Linked DNA regions of Homo sapiens: regions 1, 2, 4, 5 and 6 are each linked to region 3. Evidence: promoter capture Hi-C in human tissues and cell types (Jung and others, 2019). All regions are on one chromosome and are shown on one strand. The core of a region is centred on a gene start or on the middle of the fragment in contact, and the rest is flanking DNA. Distances in the headings are between cores, read along the strand shown.

Region 1 (3,599 bases), core at 532-3,031, 280 kb after region 3:
CTGGGTTGAAGCGATTCTCCTGCCTCAGCCTCCCAAGTAGTTGGGATTACAGGCATGCGCCACCATGCCTGGCTAATTTTGTATTTTTAGTAGAGACGGGGTTTCTCCATGTTGGTCAGGCTGGTCTCAAACTCCTGACTTCAGGTGATCCACACACCCCAGCCTCCCAAAGTGCTGAGATTACAGATGTGAGCCACCACGCCTGGCCTTTTTTTTTTTTTTTTTTTTGAGACAGTCTCGCTTTGTTGCCAGACTAGCCTGGAGTACAGTGGTGTGATCTTGGCTCACTGCAACTACCGTCTCCTAGGTTCAAGTGAATTCTCCTGTCTCGGCCTCCCGAGTTGCTGGGATTACAGGTGTGCACCACTATACCCAGCTAATTTTCATATTTTTAGTAGAGACGGGGTTTCACTACATTGGCCAGGCTGGTCTCAAACTCCTGACTTCAAGTGATCTGGCCGCCTCTGTTTCCTAAAGTTCTGGAATTACAGGCATGAGCCACTGCACCTGGCTGATGGTTTCTTTTAAAGAAATGAGGTTTCTCATCAGGGTGCCGTGTGGCTCATGCCTGTAATCCCAGCACTTTGGGAGGCTGAGGTGGGAGGATTCCTTGAGCCCAGGAGTTTGAGAACAGCCTGGGCACATAGTGAAACCTTGTCTCTACAAAAAATAAAGAAAATTACTGGGGCGTAGTTATATACACCTGTAGTCCCAGCTTCTGGGGAGGCCGAGATGGGAAGATCACTTACTCCTGGGAAGTCAAGTCTGCAGTTCAGTTGAGATCCTGCCACTACACTTCAGCCTGGTTGACAAAAACAAACAAAAAAAAGAGATGAGGTCTATGTTCTCTATGTTGCAGGCTGGTCTTGAACTCCTGGCCTCAAGCAGTTCTCCTCCATTAGCCTCCTGAGTTAGCTGGGTTACAGGTGTGATCTACCTTGCTTGACTCTCAAATGTTATGTATAATTATTTAAGAATAGGAAGCAGGCCAGGCACGGTAGTTTCAGCACATTGGGATGGCAAGGCAGGCAGATCACCTGAGGTCAGGAGTTTGAGACCAGCTTGGCTAACATGGTGAAACCCTGTTTCCACTAAAAATATAAAAAATTAGGTGTGGTGGCATGTGCCTGTAATCCCAGCTACTCAGGAGGCTGAGGTAGAAGAATCGCTTGAACCTGGGAGGCGGAGATTGCAGTGAGTCGAGATCATGCCATTGCACTCCAGCGTGGGCAACAAGAGTGAAACTCCTTCTCAAAAAAAAAAAAAAGAACCAATGTTGCATTATATTTATTATACTATTAATTTATAGGAAAAATTTAAGTTTCTCTTGAATTCATATTTTCTCAGGCTCATATTCATAGAAAAATAGAAAGTGATCCTAAACTATTGATTTATCCCTTTAATCTGCTCCCCCACCCGCAAACATAACACATATAGTAGAACCCTTCTCAATAAGTGTCTCCACTATCCACTTGGGACTTAGGCCCAAAACTTAGGAATCACTCTTCATTTCTCTCTCACACCTCAAATACAATGCATCTGTAATTCCCTTAGCTGTTTCTCCAAAATATATTCTGAGTATGACTATTCATCTCTTATATTGCTATAACCCTGGCCCAAATTCCCATCATCTTGTCATTTCCTTAGCTAAAATCCTCTAATAGTAACCCATTACACTTAATAAAATCCAAATTTTATCATGGTCTGCTAGTACCAACCTGTCTTTATTCTCTTCCTTGTTAGTGGTGCTCCAGCCATGTTGGCCTTATTTCCGGCCTTCACATGCGCTAAGCTTACCTGTTAGGGACCTTAGTACTTGGTACTCCTCATCCTCCTTGAAATATTTTTTTCACCTGCCTCTTTTCTCAAGGTTTCTATTTCAAGATGCCAGTCTTAACTCAAATGTCATCTCAGAGAGGCTTTCTCTGGCCACCCCAGGTAAAAGGGTGTGTTGTTTTCTTTCACCTGCCATATTTTCTTTCTAGCCTTTTTCAGTACTTGAAAGTATTGTTAATATTTAATTATATAAAAATCACATAAGCTTTTGGGGGGCAAGAATGTTCTTCTTTACTATAGTATCCTCAGTGCCTAGAACAGTGCCAACATAATACCTGCTTAATCAATGCTTGTTGGTTATTTATCAGTGCTTTTACATCCTTCCCCATCTTTAAGTGTTCTTTATTTGGAAAGTTGGGGAAATGGAATCCAGCTTCTACTCAGATTTAAATAACTAGGTTCTTAAATCTAATGCCTTCTTTTGATTGGCTAAGAAATGTGATTGGCATGGTAGGGTGGCATGTCGGCCTTTTAGCATAAGAACTCTGTGTTTAATAATTTGACTTCTTTTCTTGAAGCCTCGAGGGAAATTTTTTCTTTCCCTATTTTAGTCAGCCAAGAACCTGACCTGGGCTGACTATAAGATTGGAAAACACTGAACACAGTATCTACTAAGCCAAGCAAGGACTGGGAGTGTAGCTCTGGTACTATCTGAAGGAAAAGCCTGAATTCAAATCCTGCTTTGGCTCCAGACTCATCTGTGAATCTAGATGAATTTCTTAACCTCTTCCAGGTTTTGTTTTTCTTATTTGTCTGATGAGTAATCACATCTGTCCTAGGACTTGTGAAGATTCCTGGGTTAATGTTCTCAAAGCTTTTTTTTTTTTCTGACAATATTCTTTCCTTTTTTTTTTGAGATGGAGTCTCACTTTGTTACCTAGGCTGGAGTGCAATGGCATGATCTCGGCTCACTGCAACTTCCACCTCCTAGGTTCAAGCGATTCTCCTGCCTCAGCCTTCCGAGTAGCTGGGATTACAGGCGCGTGACACCACGCCCAGCTAATTTTTGTATTTTTAGTAGAGACAGGGTTTCACCGTGTTGGCCAGGCTAGTCTCGAACTCCTGACCTCAGGTGATCCACCTGCCTTGGCCTCTTAAAGTGCTGGGATTACAGGTGTGAGCTACTGCGCCTGGCCCAACAATATTCTTGCTGTAGCTCCAGGGGTTTCCAGGAAGAATTGGGGGCAATGTGGTGCTCCCAGGAAGGAGTTGGATTCTTTCTCAAAGACTATGCAGAGAATAGAAAGATGTGATCCTTTATGATTTGAAATCGGCCCTACTCCAGCCTCCTGATATTGTTGGTGGATGAAAGGTATATTGTTGCCAAAGTCATTAGGTCTGTTTGAGGCAGCTGGTTTCAGTTTCCGTTTCTGGGGTTAAGCTGTTTTGCCTCTGAAATTTCTTCCATCAGAAGCTACTCTTTTTTTGTTGCTTGCTAATAGGAAATCTTTTGCCATTTCTGTACATTTAAGAGTAGCCTTCTTGGTCTTCTTGATTCTTTTGATAGCTTGAAACCAAAAAATTGAGCTTCAGTTTCTTCTTGGTTTAGTGCTTTCCTCCTTGTTCTTCCTTCCGTTTTTAGGAGTTCTTGTGTTCTCAGCACACTGTTTTCTCCAGAATAATTTGCAGATAAAACTTCCGTTTCTTTTTTCTTCATCCTTCTGAGGTAAGTGGGAGTAAGGAAAATTGTCAGTCTCAAATTTGGGTCTTATTGCTTTCTATTTCCGGTTTTGATCACACTTTGTTTTGAGCACAAGCTTTCC
Region 2 (3,497 bases), core at 406-2,905, 460 kb before region 3:
AGTCCATACAGCTGTGCTCCCTCCAGAGAAGGAGCCAATACTATGCGCCAGCCCCTGTGGCCTGTGCAGCTACTGTGCTATGCCATCTTGGAAGTGGAGCTACAGTGGGATTGTGTTTTGCTCTGGGGACAGATGGCCACAGCTCCCCTTCATTCCTGAGGCTAAGCCACCAACAAACCACTCTAGCCTGATGTCTTGACAATCTAAGCCAAGCTGTGAGCAGCTATTACATGATTCCCCAAGGGGCCAAGTGGAGGCAGAGCCACTCCACCTACCCCTCCCCACTCCCCTTGGGCTGCAGCTGAAGCAGTACCCTATCCACTATGAAAACAGTACTTAGACTGCTCAGAGCAGTCAGGCCTCCCTGGTGCCTAAGGTGAAGAAGCAATCTGTATCCCAGGAAATGGTGCCTTGGCCACCCAGGGCAGTCATGCATCCTAGCACCTAACTTGAAGCGGCACCCTGCATTCCAATGATACTGTGCCTGGGTCACCCAGAACAGTCATGCCCACACTAGGCCTGTGCTAAAGCAGCACATTGTCCCCAGGGGAATTGGTGGCTGGCCAAGCTGAGCAGCTACGCATTCCAGGGCTGAGCTGACACAGTACCCCATGTCCCAGGAAACAGAGCAGTGGCTGAGCTGAGATACCTTGCCCTAGCCAAACAACTCCAGTACCCTGCTTCCCTGGAACTGGACTTGCCCCTAGAGTCTGAGCTGCTAAGATACCCTCTTCCTGGGGAGTGGAGTCATTGCTGTGCTGCTCCCTGACCCCCAGGGCCCAAATGACAGCTGTGCTCTGCCACGCTGGGGTATTCGCTGCCATTGCACTTGGCTTCACAGAGTCTAGGATACAGCCAAGCCCCACCATCCTGGAGTCTAGAGTCACTACTACATGGTGCCTCATTCCGTGGGACCTGAGCTGCCACTGAGCCCTATTGGCTCAGATCCCTGAATTGCAGCTGTACCCTGCTCCCTAGGCCCAAACCTCCAGAGCACCCCTTCTTCCACAGAGTAAGGCCAGTGCTATGGCCTATCCCCCAGTATTAGAATCACAGTTATGAGCCAGTCCCCTGGGCCTGAGCTGCTAGCGGGTGCCTCAGATCCTGGCTCTGTGGGCAACCTACATCCAACCTTGCCACAGAGAGCAAATCTGTACCCCAATACCCAGGTGCCACAATAGGTTTGTGAGACCCTAAGCCTGGAAACCTGACTCCACAGCTACTCCACGCATCTGTACCTGGAACCCAGTGCCTCTGCAGCTGCTTGTAGGCCATGTCAGTCAGACCTGACACCAAGAGGGATTCTCTTGGCTGAGTCACTCCATTGTGAGGAAAATGAGAATAGGAGGACTCCAAAACTCCTTGACACCAAGGATATTAACAACATATACCACCACTGCCACTGCCACACTTCTATAGCCTAGGACTCTTGAGGCACCCATAGTTATTGCTCATGTTGAATGCAGCTGAAGAAGCTACACAGAAAACATACCACTACATCTATCCAGAAACAGAGTTGCCATACCCTTCCCAACTGGCACACTAAAACCCAACTGCATGTGAAAGTCTTTCTCTATGAAAGCCACTCCAGAGAGTTTGGAAGAAGTGACTGTTCTGCCAGATGTGGGGTATCAACACAGAGACATAAGAAACATGAAAAAAACAAGGACATATGACTCCACCACAGGAACATAATAACTCTTTGGTAATAGACCCCAATGAAAAGGAAATCAATTAATTGCCAGAAAATAAATTAAAAGTAATGATCTTAAGGAAATGCAATGAGATACAAGAAAATACAGATAGATGATTCAACAAAATCAGAAGAACAGTTCATGATATGAATTAGAAATTCAACAAAGAGATAAAAATCATAACAAAAAAACAGAAATCTTGCAGCTGAATAATTCAATGAACAAAGTTTAAAAAATACAATAGAGGGCCAGGCGTGGGGGCTCACACCTGTAATCCCAACACTTTGGGAGGTGAGGTGGGTGGATCGCCTGAGGTTGGGAGCTCAAGGCCAGCCGAAGCAACATGGAGAAACCCCGTCCCTATTAAAAAATACAAAATTAGCCAGGTGTGGTGGCGCATGCCTGTAATCCCAGCTACTTGGGAGGCTGAGGCAGGAGAATTGCTTTAACCCACGAGTCAGAGGTTGCGGTGAGCCGAGATAGTGCCATTGCATTCCAGCCTAGGCAACAAGAGCGAAACTCCGTCTCAAAAAAAAAAAAAAGGAAAAAATACAATAGAGAACTACAACAGCAGACTTGATCAAGCAGAAGAATGACTCTATATTTGAAGATAAGTCATTCGAAATTAGTCAGAGGGAAAAAAGTTAGAATGGAAAACAGTCAAGAAGGTCTACAACACTTAGGGGATCTCATTAAGTAAACAAATATTCATATTATTGGATTTCCAAAGAGAGAAGGGGAAAGGCATAAAAAACTTATTTAATGAAATAATAGCTGAAAACTTCCCAAGTCTGGGGAGAGAGATGGACAGCCAGATCCAGGAAGCTCAAAAGTCCCCAAACAGATTCAACCCAAAAAAGTCCTCTCCAGCCAGATGCGGTGGCTCACGCCTGTAATCCCAGCACTTTGGGAGGCCAAGGCGGGCAGATCATTTGAAGTCAGGAGTTCGAGACCAGCCTGACCAACACGGTGAAATCCTATCTCTACTAAAAATACAAAAAAATTAGCCGAGCGTGGTGGTGCATGCCTGTAATCCCAGCTACTCAGGAAGCTGAGGCAGGAGAAAAGCTTGAACCCAAGCGGCGCAGGTTGCAGTGAGCTGAGATCACACTACTACACTCCAGCCTGGGTGACAGAGTGAGACTGTCTCAAAAAAAAAAAAAAAAAAGGCCTCTCCAAGGTACATTACAGTCAAATTGTCAAAAGTCAAAGAGAGAATTCTAAAAACAGCCAGAGAAGGCCGGGTGCAGTGGCTCACGCCTGTAATCCCAGCACTTTGGGAGGCCGAGGCAGGCAGATCACGAGGTCAGGAGATCGAGACCATCCTGGCTAACATGGTGAAACCCCGTCTCTACTAAAAATACATAAAAATTAGCCAGGCATGGTAGCAGGCACCTTAGTCCTAGCTACTCAGGAGGCTGAGGTAGAATGGTGTGAACCCAGGAGGCGGAGCTTGCAGTGAGCCGAGATTGCACCACTGTACTCCAGCCTGGGTGACAGAGTGAGACTCCGTCTCAAAAAAAAAAAAAAAAAAAACAGCAAGAGAAAAGTGTTAAGTCACATTTAAGGGAATCTCTATTAAACTAACAGATTTCTCTGCAGAAACTTTACAAGCCAGTAGAGAATGGGATGATATATTCAAAGCGCTGCAAGAAAAAGAATCTCAGTCAAGAATACTATACCCAGCAAAGTTGTGCTTCAGAAATGAAGGATAAACTAAGTCTTTCCCAGACATGAAAAAAAAAATGAGGAAGTCATCACACCCTTACAAGACATGCTCAAGGGAGTCCTACATCTGGAAGT
Region 3 (3,576 bases), core at 327-2,826:
ACGAGGTCAGCAGATCAAGACCAGCCTGGCTAACACAGTGCAACTCCGTCTCTACTAAAACTACAAAAAATTAGCCAGGTGTGATGGCACGTGCCTGTAGTCCCAGCTACTCAGGAGGCTGAGGCAGGAGAATCGCTTGAACACGGGAGGCGGAGGTTGCAGTGAGCTGAGATTGCGCCACTGCACTCCAGCCTGGGCGACAGAGCGAGACTGTCTCAAAAAAAAAAAAAAAAAAAGCAGTATTGCAGTAAACATCCTTGTACATTTTTCTTTGCATACTTGCACAGATCTGTACGATAAATTCCTCATAGTGGATTACTGGGCCAGAACTAGATTATGTACATTTTAGTAACTGTCAAATTGTCCTCCTAAAGGTTTGTACCAATTATACTCTTACCAATATTGACTTTGAGTGTCCATTTTTCCAAATCTCTTTATATTTTTAAAAACAGAGATGGGGTCTTGATAGCAAGACCCAGGTTGGTCTTGAACTCCTGGCCTCAAGCAATCCTCCTGCCTCGGCCTCCCAAAGCGCTAGGATTACAGGCATAAGCCATTGCACCCAGCCTGTTTTTCCAAATCTTGACCAACCAAAGGCTGTTGAACTTTTTCATCTCTGCCAACTTGACAATGAAAAAACATGTAATTGTTTCATTTACTTTTATCCATCCTCTCTCCATCTTTTAGCCTGTTGGGAATCTACACATTCTTTAAATCCTAGGTTAAAAATTCATCTTCCTCACAGATCCTCCCCCATCAAATTTCTCCTGTCTCTAAGCATTTATAGCTTTTCATTTATACAGTTATTACACTGCTTTGAATTTTAGTGACTAGTCTGTATGTTATATTCCTCCAACCACTGTAGATTACAAATTCCTTGGAAGTAAGGACCTGAACTCATTCACAGAAACACTGAATGTAGAGCTAAGCTAAAATTCTGGAGATCATGTTAACCAAGCCTCTCGTTTTTATAAGGGAATATTAAGCATTTGCAGGATGCGTTACAGTTCACAAAGGCTTTTCTCAGACATTCTATTAGTTATATTAACTCCTCCATTAAATTGTAAGGGAAACATCGTTATCCCATTTTACAGATAAGGAAACAACTCCAGAAGATTTACTGAGAAAAGTGATTTACTCAGAACAGTTCCAAGGTCAGAATCCAGCATCCTGGCTTCATTCGCTGTTACTTCCACGACATCTCAGCTGCCTCTGGTTTCCCTCACAGCACTTAGCTTCACAATCTCTAGGGAATGAAATGACCAAAAAAAATTGTCGGGTGTTGACAGCAGCCTGAACATCTGTAATTAAATAAAGCAAACATGCTGACGACCAAGGATGCCCGGGTCTACACACATTCTTTCGCCTTTCTTTCTGGAGTCGGCAGACTTGCCCCCGGCAGCGACCAGCGTCCCCACCCGTGCAGGCGGCGTCTGGTCCAGAGGGAAACACGGCTGCGCGCGGCCCCTTTAAGGCTGCGGGCGGCGCGTGCCCACAGGCCTTTCAAATGGACCAATAAAAGTCCGATGGGCGGTCCGTCGAGGACCAATAAAGAACGAGGACACTGCGGGGTGTGCGGCGGCCCAAGCGGTTTCAAACGGCTTAGAGCAGGCCGCTTGGTTCTGACCCAGCTGAGGTGAGTGGTCGGTGGGCCTGCCCCACCCGCGAGGCCCTCGAGTGCAGGCATCGCGCGCGCAGAGGAGCCCCTGAATCCTGGGCGGCTGGAGGTCTCCAGACGCGCGCCCCACTTGCCCCACGAACCCGGCAGGTCTGAGGCGGCGAAGCGAGCCGGAGGCCGGGGGACCTGCGGCGGGCAGGGCCGGGGGCGTGGGCGCTCGTGTGCGGCGGAGGCCGGGGTTGGGCTCCAGGTGGCCAGAGCGCGCCGCAGCGTGGCGCGGGTGGCAGCGTCCGCGGGGCGCGGGCGGTGCAGGGCCGCGCCTGGCGGCAGCGATTTACCAAGACTAGGGCGGGGGCCCCGAGAGCCGGCCCTGCTAGAGTGCCTCTCGCGTAATTGTCAAGTGAATGAATAAGTAAGCGCCTACGAGGGCTGTGGTGGTTGCGAAGGGCCTTGTCGCCCTGGAGCAAGGACAGCGGCACCGGGGCCTGGCCGCACACCTGTGTCCCTGCTGGCTTGCTGCGATGTGAACGATTCCGATCATCCACCACCCCGCCCTTAACGACTGGCTTTCTCTCTCTCAACGTGTCGGGAGCGTTCTGGTGTCCTTCCAGCCCTGGAGGTGTTGGGGAACCAATACAATAGCCAGCAGTGTGGGTTGGGCCTTGCTACTTTAAGGTCGGGCTCGGTGAACTAGATTCTTACTTTTGAGCTCTCCCCTCTACTTGTAATCGTGGTAATTGTTGAGCAGGATTGAAATGCATTCCGTTGTGTTTCTTGGATAGAAAATGATGAAAGGGTTGTTGCCAGAGTGGCTAGTGTGTGTTAGAAAATATATTCGTGTTGATGAATCTTAACAATGAGTTTTTTATTCAGCATCAATAGAGGTTGAAGTGGTTTTTGCAGAACTTGCCCCAAATTTATGCGTGGCTCTAATTTAATTCTCATGGGACCAAGGCATCAAATCTTGGCCCAGAAATGCTGCCTGTCTTATGCATAATTATAGTAATTGAAAACTCATTTTTAGAAAGGTGAGCTCCTCCTTCCTCCATTTTCATCACCCTGAAAAGTCCTTCTTTTGACCTAAAGAGCCAATAAATTAAGCTAAGAATCTTTTGAAACTTTAAGAAATTGTAGAAGACTTTGACTTCTCTGAAGTGACTGGACAAACTGTAATGCTTTTACCAAATTTAATGATATAGATAAAGGTGAAATCAATTTATTTTGCAACCATAAGTTAAATCTAGTTGGTAAACTCATGTAAAAAAATTTTTAAATAAGATTTTAGGCTGGGCGCGGTGGCTGACGCCTGTAATCCCAACACTTTGGGAGGCCGAGGCGGGCGGATCACGAGGTCAGGAGTTTGAGACCAGTCGGGCCAACATGGTGAAACCCCGTCTCTCTCTCTCTCTCTCTACTAAAAATACAAAAAATGGCTGGGCGTGATGGCGGGCGCCTGTAATCCTAGCTACTCGGGAGGCCGAGGCAAGAGAATCATTTGAACCCGGGAGACAGAGGTTGCAGTGAGCCAAGATCCCGCCATTGCACTCTAGCCTGGGTGACAGAGCGACCCTCTGTCTCAAAAAAAAGAAAAAAAATTTTTTAAAAGGCTGTTCACTGAGGCAATGGCAAGCAAAGGTATTCCGTAACAATTAACATGCCTTTTACTTTATTCTCCATTACTTTAAAGTCTTGATCAGTTTTGAATTATGTTTGAATTATGAACAGTGGGTGTGGTAATTCCATCGCAGTCTTCTACTACTGACAGTTCAGTTTTAGCAGCACCTGTTTTTTTGGTGTTTTTTGTTTGTTTGTTTGTTTGTTTTTTACCTTCACGGTTTATTGTAAAGGATGCTACAAAGCATACAGATGAAGAGAGGCGTAGGGCTTGTAGGTATGGGAGAAGGGTGTGGAGCTCTTATGCTCTCATATGAAGTGTGTTTGAATATACCAACTCTCCT
Region 4 (3,791 bases), core at 180-2,679, 260 kb before region 3:
GCAGTGAGCCGTGATTGCGCCACTGCACTCCAGCCTGGGCGGCAGAGCTAGACTCTGTCTCAAAAAAAAAAAAAAAAAGATGTGTTCTCTTGGTCATACTGTCTCACGCTGGGTGGATCAGGGCTAACCCACCTCCATGGCTTTCATGACTGAAGGGGCTTCAGGGCCCTGGAGTTGCAGACAGGAATGCAGTCTTTTTGGGAACTGGAGGCAGGCAAGAATATAATAAAGGCTAGATGAAGATACCCAGGCTGGGCTTTAAACTGCTTTAAATTGTGCCAGTTTCTTCTGGCAACTGCCCTAAGGAAAGCAAAGCCAGGCACCACCCAGTGGAAATCTGGAAGTGGGCATACTTTGTGGCATCAATTATGCCAGTTTGGCCAGGAAGTTTGTAGTACTTGGTCTCTATGACCCTGACCTAACCTACTCAATAAGGGGCAGTTTAGTCTGAGTCAGAAGAAATGAAGAGCGACTCGATATTGTGATCTTTGACTTAACGTATTCAATTTGTAATTAAGACCATTATTAAAATCAGTATAAGAAATCATGTCTTCTCATTCCATTCCTCAAACTCTCTGTCTGTCTGCCTTTACTATTTCCTGATAGTAACCATGGATATTTGCTTTAGAAGTTCTTAATTGCTACATTCTTAGCTACTTATTTAGTCAATATACTAAGTGTCAAAGGTATGCCAGGGACTGTGCTAGATTCTGGGGAAACAGCAAGGGATAAGACAGATAAAAATCCCTATTTTCATGGTACTTACATTCTAGTGTGTATGTGTGGAGGCAGTGGTTGGGGAGACAGAGAATAAAAAGTAACAAAGAAAGAAATACTTTTAGGAAGTGAGGAGAGCAATGACATAAATCAGGCAGGGTGGTGTGATACACAGTGACTGAGGGTGGGACCACATGAGATGGCTGTGCCAGGCTCATCTTTGAGAACGTACCATTTGAGCTGAGAACTCACCAGATGAGAATCAGCCAGCCATGCAATCTAGGGAAAGAAGGAAGGGCAAAGACCGGGAGATGGGAATCAGCAACAAGAGTGTTTTGCTTCCCGCCTCTCCATTCTGCACACAAATGCTATTTCTCTGTCTCTGGCATGTTGCAATCTAGCATGTTAAAGAAATTGCTCTATGATGCCTAGGAAGGGAATAATATTAAATGAAACAGAATTCCAAGCCTTACCAATTACTGGAGCTACATACTGCCATGGGGGAGGGTGGGGACACTGAGGAAAGATAAGGCAAGGGCTGTGGAAGCTGCCCCAGGCTGCCCCATTTCACTACTGTGGTTAACTGGCAAAGGAGTCCATGCAAATGAGTGCAGGATGTCCAAATCGCAGCACTGTTTCACACATCATCATTTCAAGTCACCGACTGACAGGATTTAGCACTCTGTGTCTGGCAGCAACCAGCAGTGAAGCAGAGAGAATTCCACTGGATTATCCAAAGCATCTGACCCGCAAATGAGGAGTGAGCAGAACATTTTTAAAAAACAACTCTTGAGTGGTTCAGTGAGCCAATTTGACATCGAAGAGAGACACACAAACATCCAGCCACCTCTGAGGCAAAAGGTCAATTTCTTCTGCTTGTCCTCGGTCCTCAGAATCCAAGTTACTGATGTGAGCTCTGTCCCTCATTTTCCTAGCCAAAGGGGTAGATGTGAAGCACAGACAGGCCAGATACAGTGTTCTGGGACAACACACCATTGTCTGAATCCAGAGAGCATCATGGCTACAGTGGACGAGAGTAGGCTCAGTGGGAGAGGCTCAGGGAACATCAGAAGTGCAGGGCCTGTCTTTTGAAGATAAAGTCTGGCTAGATCAGCTTTTCAGTGAAAGAAGCCAAAGTCTGCAGCCAGATCTTCATTTTTGGTGAGCCCATCACAGATTCCAGGTTTAGGATGAGGGGCTAGAATGAAGGGAAAAGGCCAATTATCACCCTATAAGAAGTAGATAGGCTAGGGGCGGTGGCTCACGCCTGTAATCCCAGCACTTTGGGAGGGTGAGGTGGGCGAATCACTTGAGGTCAGGAGTTCAAGACAAGCCTGACCAACATGGTGAAACCCTGTCTCTACTAAAAATACAAAAATTAGTCAGGCATGGTGGCCGGCGCCTGTAATCCCAGTTACTCAGGAGGCTGAGGTAAGAGAATCGCTTGAACCCAAGAGGCCGAGGTTGCAGTGAGCTGAGATTGTGCCACTGTACTCCAGCCTGGGCGACGCAGTGAGACTCCATCTCAAAAAAAAAAAAAAAAAAAAGTAGATAGTACTGAACTGTCCCACCCTTGTGGGTTTCTGAACTTTCTAATTCTCCAATCAAGTCCTGAGACCCTCCTGCTCCCCATCCTTCTCTCCTCCAAGCTCTTCTCACACAGCTGTGAGGTAAGATTTACTAGATGGAATGTGTTTGCAAAATCTGTTTTGTTCACTGTAACATGTTTATCAAAAAAGAAAAAAAAAAGCCTGTCCCTTCTCACTATTTAGTTTTTGGTGACTGCCTTTTGGGATCTGGAACTGGATAAACAGATGGACTTCACAGAAGAAATCAGGCGAAGCGCCAGGGTGTGTATATATATCTTAGTCTCACTGTATATACGGCAGATAGCCCTCGTGCAAACAGCTGTGCTGGTTTTGGAGGAAAGTGAGGGGACAGTGTCTCCTGGATGACAGTGCTCCCATTGCTCCAAGGTGTACCTCCCTGTGGTGCTTTGGGCTATAGGATGCCAGACAGATTCTAGAGTTCTAACCTCAGATATATGACCCTGATTTCATTTTCTGGCCTCTAGTTGTGGTAATTAAGGGTTGTGCCAGATCCCAAACTATTGCTAATTATTCATACTGGGTTTGCTATAAACGAGTGCTGAGTATTTGCACTGTGTATAGTGATGAGTACCTTTGCAATATACTGGATGCCTCTATTAAGGGGATGCCCAGGAGGGGTATGGTTTTGAGCGTCTGTGTGTGTGTGCGCACATGCGCACATGCAGAAGTTGTGGAAGGCCTGGACTACTGTATTTGCCTGGCCACAGAGAAGTATCACTGCCAGGGGAACAAGGTACAGTGATTCCTCATGTGCAGCACGCTGCTGCCCCAAGGGAACTGGGGGGGAATTGTACCGAGCAGTTTCCCCCTAATTTTTTTTTGCCACCTTGTCCAGTATAAATCTCTATTGCAGGGGTGGAGGTGGAGGAAGTAATTCTTTCTTAATTCAATGTGCTTCAATTCCCAGATATGAACAAACTTCAGAACATTTTAGGAGAATCTTCTAATAGAAAAAACATATTCATTTGCTTCACAGAGTAGGTTTCAGGTGGATGTCTCCTTCTCTCCTGGACAAACTCCTTGAAAAAAAACCATGAAAATAAAAGGCAATACTGTCCAAACAGGAAACTGGTGCCAAATAGAGGCAAAAAACCAAAGCAAAACAACTCCCTGAGATAGAGTGGACTGCATTCATTAGGTTCAGGTAGCTCAAAAGACAAGAACATTAAATAATTAGACTCCAACAGATCAAGGTGCTGTAGGTAATGGGACCTCATAAGGACAGAACAAAAGATCCTGTTTCTAACAAAGGTTCTACAGACCTTTATACTACAGTGAGCAATGAGTGAGAGGGATGCTGCCCAGGAAATGAAAGGACTCAATCGTTCCTCTTCAGTGAGCGGAGCCCAGGAGGAGTGTTCCAGGGCGCTCTCACAAACACTCTTTAATAATACCATCCAGAGCCTTTGATTCAAGGAACATGCTGAAGAATAAACAGCCTATTAATCTGAGTTTTCTGGTGTG
Region 5 (3,557 bases), core at 997-3,496, 300 kb before region 3:
ATGGCAGAATCTGTTTTGACATCTGGATTGAGGGAGCAGGGAGACAGCAGAGAGCGGGCAGCTAGAGAGGACTGGGGTTAGCAAAGACCTCCAAACTGCAGAGGAAGAGTGAGCTCCCCCGGGAGCGCTCAGGGAGCAAGGGCCACCAGCACCTCAAAGCTTTTCCTTGGCAGGCTCAGCAGGGCAGGCAAAGGCTCTGGACATGAGAAGCCACTGACTTTCCTTTACTGCCCTGTTCTCAGGACAGCTGGAGCCCCAATAGTCTAAAGTGAATTACGACAGAACAGCACTGGGCTGTGAATATCCCCAAGCAGGAAACCACCAGGGAGCCCAAGGCTTTCCCCGTGTTCCATGGCTTCTGTTGATCATCAGTTGGAACACAGCACTCCCATAGCAGCAACTTCCACTTGCTATTTATTTACATTGTGATATAATGACACACCATAAAAGTCACCCTTTAAAAGCGTACAATTCAGTTTTTTAGTATATTCACAAAGTAGCGCCACCATCACCACTGTCTAATTACAGAAGTTACCTCCATTTGCAATTCTCACCAATAGGCCCATTCCAGAGCCTGCCTCGGAGCAGAAGCTTGAGCTCGTACTTCCCAAAGGGCTACCCCTGCCTCGCAGCCTCGCGGAAGCCTTAATGCTGAGTGCCACTAGCATCTTCCTCTTTCAGCCACAGATGGGACTAGAAGCTATAAACAGGGCACACCCTTCCAGCCTCAGAAGTGGTCTGCAGCTTTCTGCTAGGGGCCATCTTGACCTCAAACATCAGCAGTCCCTTTGGAGATGGGCCGTTGCAGAAGAGGGGGCGCACACCGTGGGAGGGTAGGAGTGTCCGTCAGAGCAGGGCAGCCCTGCAGGTGCCCTTAATACGGGTAACAATAGAGGCATTTTTTTTTTTTTTGAGTCTTGCTCTGTTGCCCAGGCTGGAGTGCAGTGGTGCAGATCGGCTCACTGCAACCTCCGCCTCCTAGGTTCAGGTGATTCTCCTGCCTCAGCCTCCCTAGCAGCTGGGATTACAGGTGCCTGTCACCATGCCCGGCTAATTTTTGTATTTTTAGTAGAGACAGGGTTTCACCATGTTGGCCAGGCTGGTCTCGAACTCTTGACCTCAAGTGATCCGCCTATAGAGGCAGGTATCTTTCCTGAGTACCCTACCTCATGGCAGGCTATTAAGGCATTTGACTACATTAATTAAATTTTATTCTACAACAGTCCTACGGGTGGGTCTTATTGTTATTTCCATTCTACAGGTGAAGAGTCTGAGTCTCAGAGACTGGGGAGCTGAAACATATGCCGAGCAGGAGGGAGTAGGGGGCGAGTGAAGCGGGTGCAGACAGAGGCGAGGGCTTTCTTTCTGGGGGACATGTGGCTGGATCCCAGCAGCACATGTATAAAGGACTGAGGGTTTTTTTTCAACTGCAAGAAGTAAGACTGGCTACCTTTTAAAAAGCCAAATGGATCCGAGCTTGTGTTAACAGCAACACCGGCTATGACTCTCCTCAACCAGAAACGCTGGGCATACTAGACATCCTGGAAACTTCCCCCCGCCACCCTCTGCTCCAAGCCAATCAACCAGTCACCAAGTCCTATCAATGCTATTGCTGAAATTTCTCTTGAATCCATCTACTTCTTTCCACGTCCACAGCCACCATCCTACCCCCAGCCTTCACCTCTCTTTTCTTGATGATGGCATGACCTCCTACCCAGTTTCCCTGCAACTACTCCTCTTGCTTTTTTTTTTTTGAGATGGAGTCTCACTCTGTCACCAGGCTGAAGTGCAGTGGCTCACTGCAACCTCCGCCCCCTAGGTTCAAGCGATTCTCCTGCCTCAGCCTCCCGAGTAGTACTGGGACTACAGGCGTGCGCCAGCATGTCCAGCTAATTTTTGTATTTTAGTAGAGACGGGGTTTCACCATGTTGGCCAGGATGGTCTTGATCTCTTGACCTCATGAGCTGCCCACCTAGGCCTCCCAAAGTGTTGGGATTACAGGCGTGAGCCTTCTTCTAATTGAGTATCCATCCTGTGGGCAGAAAGATTTTCCTAAAATGTGAATGTGACCATTTTACCATTGTGTTGGAAACCCTTCACAGAGGCCGGGCACAGTGGCTCATGCCTGTAATCCCAGCTACTCAAGAGGCTGAGGCTGGAGAATCGCTTGAACCTGGGAGGTGGCCATGTCAGTGAGCCAAGCTTGTGCCACTGCACTCCAGCCTGGATGACAGAGCAAGACTCCATGTCAAAAAAAAAAAAAAAAAAAAACCTTCACAGTCTTCCCATTGCCCTTAGGACACGTTCCCCCATTTGGATCTGGCCTGTGAGCCCGCTCCATCTGCCCCCTGCCTCCCTCGACTCCCCCACTGCATTCTGGCCACACTAGTCCTTCCATCCTCCCTGAAGCTGTCCTTACTCATGCCCTCCAGACAAGTCTGTCCCTCTAGCCATAATGCTCCCTGTCCCTTCTACCCATGATGCTCCCTGCCCTCCATGCCTCCTCCTCACCTACCGGATATCTCCATATTCTTCAGGCTGAAGCCTCCACAGCATCTCTTGGGGAAGATGAAAGAGGAAAGCACCTTTTCTAACCCAGCCTAGAATAGGCCCCCCTGCTACTGGCTTCTGCAGTTCTCGGAAACCTCCTCACACTGTTGTCTTTGTCCTGGGAACATAAGATCTACCAAGTGACACCTCTGTCTCCCTGCTTGTGGCTTGACTCTGGTATGGTGTCTGGCACATAGTAGGCACTCAGTCAACGTCTGTTGAATGAAGAAATGCATGAACAAATGAGTGAGAGAAGCCACGGTCCCCTTTTCCTCTGGCCAGGTGGCACCTGGAGCAGTTTCTTAATCCCTCTCATAAAGATACTTACAATCTTTATGGAGAATGCAGACATTCAGAGGGATTAAGAAACTTGGCGAAGGTTACAAGCTAGGAGCAAAAGAGCTGTCATTCAAATACTACTACCTTCAGGTCTGGACAGTCCGTTTAAGGGGAGTAAACTAGAGTCCTGGAGAAGAGGGTCAGGCTGATGGACAGTCTAAAAACCAGGATACTGGATAAATGGCTGCATTTAGATCTTTTGCTTAGAAGTGAAGACTAGGGAGGAAGTGAAGGCTGAGACCCAACTCTCAAAGGACTGCCTCTTGGGGAGATGCCACGGGGATCTAGAGTTTGGCTCTAGAGACATTTTCAAGCTGCTTAGTTCTAGGATTGTGGCTGATTTGTAAAGGAATGAGATGTGTATTGCCAGAAATGTTCAAGCAGAAGTTTGAAGGCTCATACTTCCCAAAGGGCTTCTTCCAGCTCTGACAGTGTTGTCCCAAGGGTGGACAGAACTAACAGCTCCTCCTGTTAGTGTTAAATCTAGTGGGGGGACAGTTTGATGTTCAGAGGTCTATGGCTGCAGAAGACTTACTGAAAGGTGCTTTTAATCACATCATATGCTGTGCTGTCTGTCTCCAAATGAATGCTGAGACCATGAAAGTTCTAGGCATCTGTGTCTTTAACCCACCTATGGGATCTTTCTGGCTGTGGGCATCTGCATCTTG
Region 6 (3,978 bases), core at 303-2,802, 350 kb before region 3:
CCATGTTGGTCAGGCTGGTGTCAAACTCCTGACCTCAGGTGATCCGCCCTCCTTGGCCTCCCAAAGTGCTGAGATTACAGGCATGAGCCACCTTGCCCGGCCCCATGCATATCTCATACCTCCATGGCTGCCACCCTGTTCATCTTCTGTGGTCATCTGACCCCGTACCATCTACCGCAGATACTTCTTAATTGGATTTCCCTGCTTTTTCTCTCTTTCTAATCCATGAGTCAGGCCAGTTTTTGTGTAAGGGGCAGATAGTAAATATTTTAGGCTGTCTGAGCCATATGATTTCTGTCGCACCTACGGTACTAACTCTACCATTGTGGTGTGAAAACAGCCAAAGGCAATTTATAAATAAATGAGTGTGGCTGTGTTCCAATCCAACTTTATTTGTAGATGCCAAAATTTGAATTTCCTATAACCTTTGTGCGTCACAAAATAGTCTTCTTTTTATTATTTTTTTCATCAATTTAAAACGGTAAAAACCGGCCCAGTGCAATGGCTCACGCCTGAAATCCCAACACTTTGGGGAGCCAAGGCAGGAGGATCACTTGAGCCCAGGAGTTCAAGACCAGCCTGAGGAACACAGGGAGACCTTGTCTCTGTAGAAAAAAAAGAAAGGGTGCAGCACACCAACATGGCACATATATACATATGTAACAAACCTGCACGTTGTGCACATGTACCCTAGAACTTAAAGTATAATAAAATAATAATAATAATAATAAATAAAAGTAAAAAAAAAAGAAAAAAAGTAAAAACCAGTCTTAGCTGTGGGCCATATAGGCCATGGTTTGCTAATTCCTTGCTCTAATCCATTCCTCATGCAACATCCAAAAAGGCCATTCAGTTCCCTCCTCTGCTTAAATCCCTCCAAGGGCCCCCTCTTGCACTCGGAACAGAACTCACAAAGCCTGGTAGTGTCTGGGTGCTGCCTGCCTCTCCCACCTCATTCTAGGCCTCTCACCCGCTCATTCACCGTGCCCTGCCCACTCCACCCTTCTGACCTGGAAGGTCAAGTTCTCATGTAAGGACCTTTTCATACATCAGTCTTCAGTTGTTCCGCCTGGAATGCCGTTCCCTAGGTCCCCTCTTCACCTTCTTAACTTCCATTTGTCTTCTGGGTCTTTTTGGGTGGAGGCTTAAACTCCCTGAAGCCACACTCCCACTATCCTCTTCCAGCACACTGTCCCTTTTTTTTTTCCTTCAAACACTCATGACAATTGGTAATGATGTTTTTGGACCTTTATTTGATTTCAGTGGAAAATTCCATGAAGTAGACATCTTGTCTGCTTTCTTTTTTTGTCTTGAGACGGAGTCTCGCTCTGTCACCCAGGCTGGAGTGTAGTGGCGCCATCTCAGCTCACTGCAACCTCTGCCTCCCCGGTTCAAGCAATTCTCCTGCCTCAGTCTCCTGAGTAGCAGGGACTACAGGCGTGCGCCACTATGCCCGGTTAATTTTTGTATTTTTAGTAGAGACAGGGTTTCACCATGTTGGTCAGGCTGGTCTTGAACTCTTGACCTCAAGTGATCCACCCTCCTCGGCCTCCCAAAATGCTTGGATTACAGGCGTGAGCCACCGCACCTGGCCTGCTTTCTTCGAATTAAGGACTGAGCACCCAGCCTGGTGTTGGTCACACAATGGGTGCCCAAGTGCACCAGGGTAGGCTTCTGGAGCAGGAGCCTCCCGGCCAACAGAGCTGAAACCCGGAGTACACAATGGCAACTCCTGGGGCGTCTCCTGCTGAGGCGGGGACCAGCTAAAGAATCTGCCTGGGGCAATGGCAGATTCCCGGAACTACCGGTTCCTCCCCTTTTTAGACTATATAGGGTAACATCATTTTTTTTTTTTTTAATAGGGTAACTTCCTGACCCTGGAGAAACTTTCTCTATAGGCTGCACTGTTGAAACCTGCGATTCATTTTCACCCGAGTGCCATCGGTCTGCCTTGGTAACCTATAAACAGCCTGCCCCACTGAGGTTAACTGCTCTCAATAACTGGGACCAGTCTTTACACGGGACTGCCTGAGCTCTGAAAAACATAGCTGTGAAATTAGAATACTTTACTCAGCTGCCTGTCAGGAATCCTGGGGCAATGTCCAGAGGCCACGGAGGGAAACTCACAAAGCAGCCTTCAGAGGAGACAGCCCTGCCTGCAGCACTTAGCCGGCTCTGATCTACTCTCGGCAGGGTGGCCAGAGTTATCATTAAAAAGGGGAAATCTGGCTGGGCGCCGTGGCTCATGCCTGTAATCCCAGCACTTTGGGAGGCCAAGGCAGGTGGATCACGAGGTCAGGAGTTCAAGACCAGCCTGGCCAAGATGATGAAACCCCGTCTCTACTAAAAATACAAAAATTAGCCATGGTAGCAGGCATCTGTAATCCCAGCTACTTGGGAGGCTGAGGCAGGAGAATTGCTTGAACCCGGGAGGCGGAGGTTACAGTGAGCCAAGATTGCACCACTGCACTCCAGCCTGGGCGACAGAGCGAGACTCTGTCTCAAAAAAATAAATAAATAAAATAAAAGGGGAAATCTGATCTACCTACTCTCATGGACACTTCCCACTGCCTATAGGGTAGCGTCCAAATTCCCTAGCCCACTTTGCAAATCTTCACCATCCAATCCCAACCTATCTTTCCAGCTTCATCTTCCATCTGCTTCTGTTACCAGAAAGGTGTCCTGATCCAGACCCCAGGAGAGGGTTCTTGGGTCTGGTGAAAGAGAATTTGAGGCGAATCCATAGAATAAAGTGAGAGCAAGTTTATTAAGAAAGCAAAGGAATAAAGCATGGCTACTCTGGCCAGGAACGGTGGCTTATGCCTGTAATCTCAGCACTTTGGGAGGCTGAGGCAAGTGGATCACCTGAGGTCAGGAGTTTGAGACCAGCCTGGCCAACATGGCAATAACCCGTCTCTACAAAAATACAAAAATTAGCCAGGCATGGTGGTGCACACCTGTAATCTCAACTACTTTGGTGGCTGAGGCAGGAGGATCGCTTGAACCCAGAAGGCAGAGGTTGCAGTGAGCTGAGGTCGCACCACTGCACTCCAGCCTGGGTGACAGAATAAGACTCTGTCTCAAAAAAAAAAAAAAAGCTACTCCACAGGCAGAGCAGCAGCAAGGGCTGCTCACCTAAGAATACCTTTTTTTTTTTTTTTTTTGAGACGGAGTCTCGCTCTGTCGCCCAGGCTGGAGTGCAGTGGCGCTATCTCGGCTCACTGCAAGCTCCGCCTCCTGGGTTCACCCCATTCTCCTGCCTCAGCCTCCCAAGTAGCTGGGACTACAGGCGCCCGCCACCACGCCTGGCTAATTTTTTGTATTTTTAGTAGAGACGGGGTTTCGCCTTGTTAGCCAGGATGGTCTTGATCTCCTGACCTCGTGATCCACCCGCCTTGGCCTCCCAAAGTGCTGGGATTACAGGCGTGAGCCACTGCGCCCGGCCCTAAGAATACTTAAGTTATTTTTTGATTATATGCTAAACAAGGGGTGGATTATTCAGGAGCTTTCTGGTCAAGGGGTGGGCAATTCCCGGAACTGTGGGTTTCTCCCTTTTTTAGACTACATAGAGTAAATTTCTGACATTGCCATGGCATCCGTAAACTGTCCTGGCACTGGTAGGAGTGTCTTTTAGCATGCTAATGTATTAGATTTAGCGTATAATGAGTAGTGAGGATGACCAGAGGTCACATTGCCATATTGGTTTTGGTAGGTTTTGGCCAGCTTCTTTATCGCATCCTTTTATCAGCTGGACTCAGCATGCCTAACCTCCTTGGAATGCAGCCCAGTAGGTCTGAGCCTTATTTTACCCAGCCCCTATTCAAGCTGGAGTCTCTCTGGTTCAAATGCCTCTGATACCTCCACCCCATCATGACCTCATTATTCTAGAGATTCGAGACCTGCACAGTCCAATACAGTAGCCACTACTCACATGTAGTTGTTAATTTTTTTTTTTTTTTTTTTTTTTTTTTTTTGTGA

Evidence for each region. The method cuts DNA at HindIII sites, captures the fragments that hold promoters and counts their contacts. A contact is called where the count stands out against the background at its distance.
Region 1: a fragment that was not itself captured here is called in contact with the fragment with the promoter of CKAP5 in region 3 in 1 of the 25 tissues and cell types used here (dorsolateral prefrontal cortex).
Region 2: a fragment that was not itself captured here is called in contact with the fragment with the promoter of CKAP5 in region 3 in 1 of the 25 tissues and cell types used here (dorsolateral prefrontal cortex).
Region 4: a contact is called between a fragment that was not itself captured here and the fragment with the promoter of CKAP5 in region 3, in 1 of the 25 tissues and cell types used here (heart right ventricle).
Region 5: a contact is called between a fragment that was not itself captured here and the fragment with the promoter of CKAP5 in region 3, in 4 of the 25 tissues and cell types used here (IMR-90 fibroblasts, adrenal gland, dorsolateral prefrontal cortex and 1 more).
Region 6: a fragment that was not itself captured here is called in contact with the fragment with the promoter of CKAP5 in region 3 in 1 of the 25 tissues and cell types used here (aorta).

The regions. Positions count from the first base shown.
Region 1 is chr11:46,560,472-46,564,070 of GRCh38, reverse strand. The region is part of intron 1 of AMBRA1 (autophagy and beclin 1 regulator 1); the gene reads left to right. Among named protein-coding and RNA genes, the nearest start is that of AMBRA1, 32 kb to the left of the region's middle. The HindIII fragment of the contact is 4,353 bases long and covers 1-3,599 here.
Region 2 is chr11:47,302,973-47,306,469 of GRCh38, reverse strand. All of the region lies in intron 24 of MADD (MAP kinase activating death domain), which reads right to left. Among named protein-coding and RNA genes, the nearest start is that of MADD-AS1, 33 kb to the right of the region's middle. The HindIII fragment of the contact is 7,250 bases long and covers 1-3,497 here.
Region 3 is chr11:46,844,280-46,847,855 of GRCh38, reverse strand. It overlaps CKAP5 (cytoskeleton associated protein 5), which reads left to right and starts at 1,576. Exons shown (of 44, transcript NM_001008938.4): 1 at 1,576-1,636. LRP4-AS1 (LRP4 antisense RNA 1) reads right to left here and starts at 1,445. Exons shown (of 3, transcript NR_038909.1): 1 at 1,357-1,445; 2 at 1,139-1,246. RefSeq lists enhancers at 1,182-1,301, 1,756-2,333, 3,392-3,576 and silencers at 1,512-1,591, 1,772-1,921. The HindIII fragment of the contact is 16,643 bases long and covers 1-3,576 here.
Region 4 is chr11:47,107,178-47,110,968 of GRCh38, reverse strand. All of the region lies in intron 3 of CSTPP1 (centriolar satellite-associated tubulin polyglutamylase complex regulator 1), which reads right to left. Among named protein-coding and RNA genes, the nearest start is that of ARFGAP2, 68 kb to the left of the region's middle. The HindIII fragment of the contact is 6,222 bases long and covers 1-3,791 here.
Region 5 is chr11:47,149,598-47,153,154 of GRCh38, reverse strand. The region is part of intron 4 of CSTPP1 (centriolar satellite-associated tubulin polyglutamylase complex regulator 1); the gene reads right to left. Among named protein-coding and RNA genes, the nearest start is that of ARFGAP2, 26 kb to the left of the region's middle. The HindIII fragment of the contact is 3,742 bases long and covers 376-3,557 here.
Region 6 is chr11:47,192,119-47,196,096 of GRCh38, reverse strand. No RefSeq gene overlaps it. Among named protein-coding and RNA genes, the nearest start is that of PACSIN3, 7.7 kb to the right of the region's middle. The HindIII fragment of the contact is 8,886 bases long and covers 1-3,978 here.